Linked DNA regions of Homo sapiens: region 1 is linked to region 2. Evidence: promoter capture Hi-C in 16 types of primary human blood cells and fetal thymus (Javierre and others, 2016). All regions are on one chromosome and are shown on one strand. The core of a region is centred on a gene start or on the middle of the fragment in contact, and the rest is flanking DNA. Distances in the headings are between cores, read along the strand shown.

Evidence for each region. Contacts are between HindIII fragments. The CHiCAGO score rates a contact against its expected background, and 5 or more counts as called.
Region 1: a fragment that was not itself captured here is called in contact with the fragment with the promoter of LMAN1L in region 2 in 3 of 17 cell types (monocytes, megakaryocytes and naive CD8 T cells); the score reaches 5.3 in monocytes.

Annotation. Positions count from the first base shown.
Region 1 is chr15:74,651,698-74,654,420 of GRCh38, forward strand. The region is part of intron 4 of EDC3 (enhancer of mRNA decapping 3); the gene reads right to left. Among named protein-coding and RNA genes, the nearest start is that of CLK3, 37 kb to the left of the region's middle. The HindIII fragment of the contact is 9,021 bases long and covers 1-2,723 here.
Region 2 is chr15:74,811,508-74,814,207 of GRCh38, forward strand. It overlaps LMAN1L (lectin, mannose binding 1 like), which reads left to right and starts at 1,328. Exons shown (of 14, transcript NM_021819.3): 1 at 1,328-1,522. The coding sequence starts at 1,348. The HindIII fragment of the contact is 4,468 bases long and covers 1-2,700 here.

The DNA.
Region 1 (2,723 bases), core at 190-2,689, 160 kb before region 2:
ACTGCGGGAGCTCTCCAAGTTACTTCTGTAAACTGCTGGTCCATTCCTGAGAGACTGCAGTACTAAAGAAAAGACTACAGAGATGTCCCTCAACTTACAATGAGTGTTATCCCAATAAACCCATCATAAATTGAAAATATCTAAGTTGAAAATGCATTTAATACACCTAACCTACCAAACAAACATCATAGTTCAGCCTAGCCTACCTTAAACCTGCTCAGAACACTTACACTAGCCTACAGTTGGGCAAAATCATCTGGCAAAACAGTACACTGTAGAATACTGGTTGTTTACTCTCATGACTGCACGGCTGACTGCTTTGACTCCTGCTGCTGCCCAGCATTAGAGAATATCATACCTGCATATCGCTAGCTCAGGAAAAGATCTAAATTAATAATTTCAACTACAGTTTCTACTGACTATTGCTTTCACATCATCCTAGAATCAAAAAATGATAAGTCTAACCATTGTAAGTTGGAGGATCATCTGTAGTCTATTTGCCATTAAACTGCCCTTCTCTTCTTATATTTTTCCTTTTTTTTTTTTTTGAGACAGAGTCTCGCTCTGTCACCCAGGCTGGAGTGCAGTGCTGCGATCTCCGCTCACTGCAAGCTCCGCCTCCCAGGTTCACGCCATTCTCCCGCCTCAGCCTCCCAAGTAGCTGGGACTACAGGCGCCCACCACCATGCCCGGCTCATTTTTTTGTATTTTTAGTAGAGACGGGGTTTCACCGTGTTAGCCAGGATGGTCTCCATCTCCTGACCTCGTGATCCACACGCCTCAGCCCCCCAAAGTGCTGGGATTACAGGCATGAGCCACTGCGCCTGGCCTTTTCCTCATTTTTATTCACATTTAGAAGAGAAAAGGAGATGTGATGGGTAAGGTTTTTGTGTTTTTTTTTTGAGACAGGGTCTGACTCTGTCACCCAGGCTGGAGTACAGTGGCATGACTTTGGCTCATTGCAGCCGCAACCTCATGGGCTCAGACGCTCCTACTTCAGCCTCCTGAGTAGCTGGGACTACAGGCACATGCCACCGTGCCCAGCTAATGTTTTCTATTGTTTGTAGAGACAGGGTCTCACTTTGTTGCCCAGGCTGGTCTTGAACTCCTGAGTTCAAGCAATCCTCCCACCTTGGCCTCCCGAAGTGCTGGGATTACAGGCATGAGTCACTGCACCTGGCCAATGGAAAACCCTTTACCAGCTGGGCGTGGTGGCTGACGCCTGTAATCCCAGCACTTTGGGAGGCCAAGGCAGGCAGATCACTTGAGGCCAGGAGTTTGAGACCAGCCTGGCCAACACGGTGAAACCTCGTCTCTACTAAACATACAAAAATTAGCCAGGCATGGTGGCAGGTGCCTGTAATCCCAGCTACTCAGGAGGCTGAGGCAGGAGAATCGCTTGAACCTGGGAGGTAGAGGTTGCGGTGCGCTGAGAGCTGAGATCACGCCACTGCACTGCAGCCTGGATGACAAAACAAGACTCTGTCTCCAAAAAAAAAAAAAAAACCTTTACCTCTCTGGGCCTCATGTCCTCATCTGTAAAATGAAAAAATCATACTAGGTGATCAACTAACCTAACACTAACATTTTATGCTTTTAGACTGTTTCCCTATATATTCTAGTTTGCCTTTTTTGATCCAAACATTTGGATAGCAGATCCAATGGAGAAAGTGTCCCCAGCTCTGCACTGACTGCCCCTCAGTGAAAACCTGCTTGAGGATTGTGCCTTGGAACTCGAACACAGAGAAAACCCCCCTGTAGAAGAAGTTGCTCAGTAAGATAACTGCCTGCTTGCTCTATTTCCAGCACAGACGCTGCTTGGCAAAAGGGCTTCCTTTCCACTCCTTGTCACTGTTAAGAACAAAGAGAAAAACCAGATGGCATGAAGCTGCTGGGCTTCTTTCCCCCTCATTGTCATGAACCAGTGGAGTGCAACTGGTCACTACATACCACAAGACGCCACACCCAAGTTTCTGGCTAAGGACCAGCACATGTGGTTTGTGGTATGTTTATTGATAGGAAAATAATTTTATATGACAGAACTTTTCACTTCAGTCATTAAAAACAAAAGAAGTGTGAAGATCAAGTTGGGGAGCCAGAGTGTGTAGCAGAAAAAAATTTCTACCTCTGCTTTTGTCCATGTTAGTAAATATTTTCTCATGCTCTGTTAGTTCTGAGAATTCTCCCTGATTCTCACTGTTATTCTCACTCTTAGCCACTTGACTCCAGGGCAGATCATAATCTTCCCAAGTTAAAAAAATCCTGCAGTGTAGGGCTGGGCGCGGTGGCTCACACCTGTAATCCCAGCGCTTTGGGAGGCCAAAGCAGGTGGATCACGAGGTCAGGAGTTCAAGACCAGCCTGGCCAACATAGTGAAACCCCATCTCTACTAAAAATACAAAAAAATTAGCCAGGCATGGTGGTGTGTACCTGTAGTCCCAGCTACTCAGGAGGCTGAGGCAGGAGAATCGCTTGAACCCAGGAGGTGGAGGTTGGCAGTGAGCAGAGATTGCGCCATTGCACTCCAGCTTGGGCAACAGAGTGAGACTTCGTCTCAAAAAAAAAAAAAAAAAATCCTGCAGTGTAAATAGTTCCAGGGAAATCACACGCTGCATAAACCAACAGCCTCAGCAGCAGCACTTGGACTACAGATATAGAGAGCTAGCAGCAGGAGCAGCTTCTTTTACAAAGAGGGCAGTAAAAAAGGAAGCAGTCAGAGGTAG
Region 2 (2,700 bases), core at 78-2,577:
CCAGGCGCAGTGGCTCACGCCTGTAATCCCAACACTTTGGGAGGCCAAGTCAGGCGGATCACGAGGTCAGAAGATCGAGACCACCCTGGTTAACACGGTGAAATCCCATCTCTACTAAAAAATACAAAAAATTAGCCAGGCATGGTGGCGGGCACCTGTAGTCCCAGCTACTTGGGAGGCTGAGGCAGAAGAATGGTGTGAACCCGGGAGGCAGAGCTTGCAGTGAGCCAAGATCGCGCCACTGCACTCCAGCCCGGGCGATAGAGCGAGACTCCGTCTCAAAAAATAAATAAATAAAATAAAATAAAAAATAAAAAACATAACCACAATACCATATTAGTTCTCAATTTTTTTTTTCGAAATGGATTTTTGCTCTTATCACCCAGGCTGGAGTGCAATGGTGCAATCTCCGCTCACTACAATCTCTGCCTCCCAGGTTCAAGTGATTCTCCTGCCTCAGCCTCCCAAGTAGCTGGGATTACAGGCATGCACCACCAGGCCTGGCTAATTTTTTGTATTTTTTTTTAGTAGAGACAGAGTTTCACAATGTTGGCCAGGCTGGTCTCGAACTCCTGACCTCAGGTGATCCACCTGCCTTGGGCTCCCAAAGTGCTAAGATTACAGACATGAGCCACAGTGCCCTAAAATTTTTAACAATTCCTCAATATAGTCAAATATCCATTGTTCAAAAATATCCATTGTTCAAATTTCCCCAATATCTTTTTTTTTTTTTGCAGTTGGGTTAAAATTTGGCTCCAAACAAGGTCTGCACGTTGCGTTTTTGTGCTGTCTCTAAAGACTCCCTTCTTTTTTCCATGTAATGCTTTTGTTGAGGAAACCAGGCTGCTTGGAAGGATGAGCCTGGGGGAATTCGGGAGAGGGAGAGAGGGGGCAGGGAGGAGAGAAGGATGGGTGTCCAGATAGATGTGCCATCCATGCTGGGGGACACAGGCAGAATGTGGAGGCCTGTCTCCCTAACTGGGAGGGGAGGCCAGGGCTGCTGAAGGGTGGGGGCCAACCCTGGGCACCCCCCCTTCCCCTCTGCCGCATCCAACTGCTGGAAGTGATGGGAGACAGAAAGATGGCCTGAGTCAGGAGCAGGGGCAGAGCTCAGGTTGTCGTGGGGTCCCGCTGCCCACGTCAGACTGGAGGTGAGGGATGGGCGGGGCCTGACAGCAGGCCTGGAAGGAACAGGATGTCTATGCTGGAGATAGAGGGAGAGGACAGTGCCAAAACCCAGCTCCTGGCCAGTCCCCAGCTCCTCCCTGCCTGGCCCTATCCCAGGATCCCCTCCCCGGCCTCCCAGCTATGATCTACCCCGGGGCCCAGACTTCAGGCGCCTTCACGATGCCGGCGGTCAGTGGTCCAGGTCCCTTATTCTGCCTTCTCCTCCTGCTCCTGGACCCCCACAGCCCTGAGACGGGGTGTCCTCCTCTACGCAGGTTTGAGTACAAGCTCAGCTTCAAAGGCCCAAGGCTGGCATTGCCTGGGGCTGGAATACCCTTCTGGAGCCATCATGGAGGTGAGGGGCAGGGGTGGGGACCAGCTATGCCCAGGGTCCCTCAAAGTGCTGGAGGGGCTGTGACTTGGTGGGGAGTGGGTCTGTCACAGCCATCCTCTGTCCAGGGTGGGGCAAGGCCTGGGACAGTGCCAGGCACCCCAGGACCCCTTCCAGGCTTGTCTCCTGCTCCACCGCCTCAACACCCCCCACCCCTGCCCAAGCTGTTTCTCCTCTGCCTCTCTGCTTCCCTGCCCCAGGACTTCTCTCTTCTCCTCTGCCTCTCCTTGGACCCCTGCCCTTCCTCTACCTCTGACCTGTGAACACACAGACACATGCTCACACACTAAGTCCCAGGCACACAGAAGGCAATGTGGACCAGCACAAACCTCCACTCTCCCGGCTCCATCCCAGCGGGCCTGTGGCTGGCCATGAGAACTGGGGGCTACCTGGAGGGAAGCATCCTCATCCCAGGTGAGTGGGCACCAGCCCTTCCCTGTATGTGTGTTGTGGGTGGAAGCAGGCATGAGAGCATCTTAGCCCATAGGTTTGTATTCAGGGACTTCCAAACCCAGACCTACAAAGAGTGTGTCTTCTACCAGATCTTGTTCAAAAAAGGGTTTGTGATGATGGAACTACACGATAGAGGGAGTGAGCAAGAACAATGAGGATTAGAGTGGAGCGTGAAATAGTCTAGGAGCATGGCTTCCAAAACATATGCTGTGAGGTCTGTCCACCTGAGAGTTGGGCCATGGATTTAATTCTGAGCCTCTTAGCAGGCAAAGCAAAGACAGAAAGCAGATCGGCTGTGGATTTCTGTCTATAAAATGTGAGTTCTTGGCCAGGTGCAGTGGCTCACGCCTGTAATCCCAGCACTTTGGGAGGCCAAGGCGGATGAATCACGAGGTCAAGAGGTTGAAAACCATCCTGGCCAAAATGGTGAAACCCTGACTCTACTAAAAATACAAAAATTAGCTGGGTGTGGTGGCGTGCGCCTGTAGTCCCAGCTCCTCAGGAGGCTGAGGCAGGAGAATTGCTTGAACCTGGGAGGCCAAGGTTGCAGTGAGCTGAGATCCTGCCATTGCACTTCAGCCTGGGCACAGAGCCAGACTCTGGCTCAAAAAAAAAAAAAAAAAAGATGTGAGTTCTGAGAAATGGCACGATTCCTAACTAAAGCCAGGACAAAATATCCCTTTTTTTTT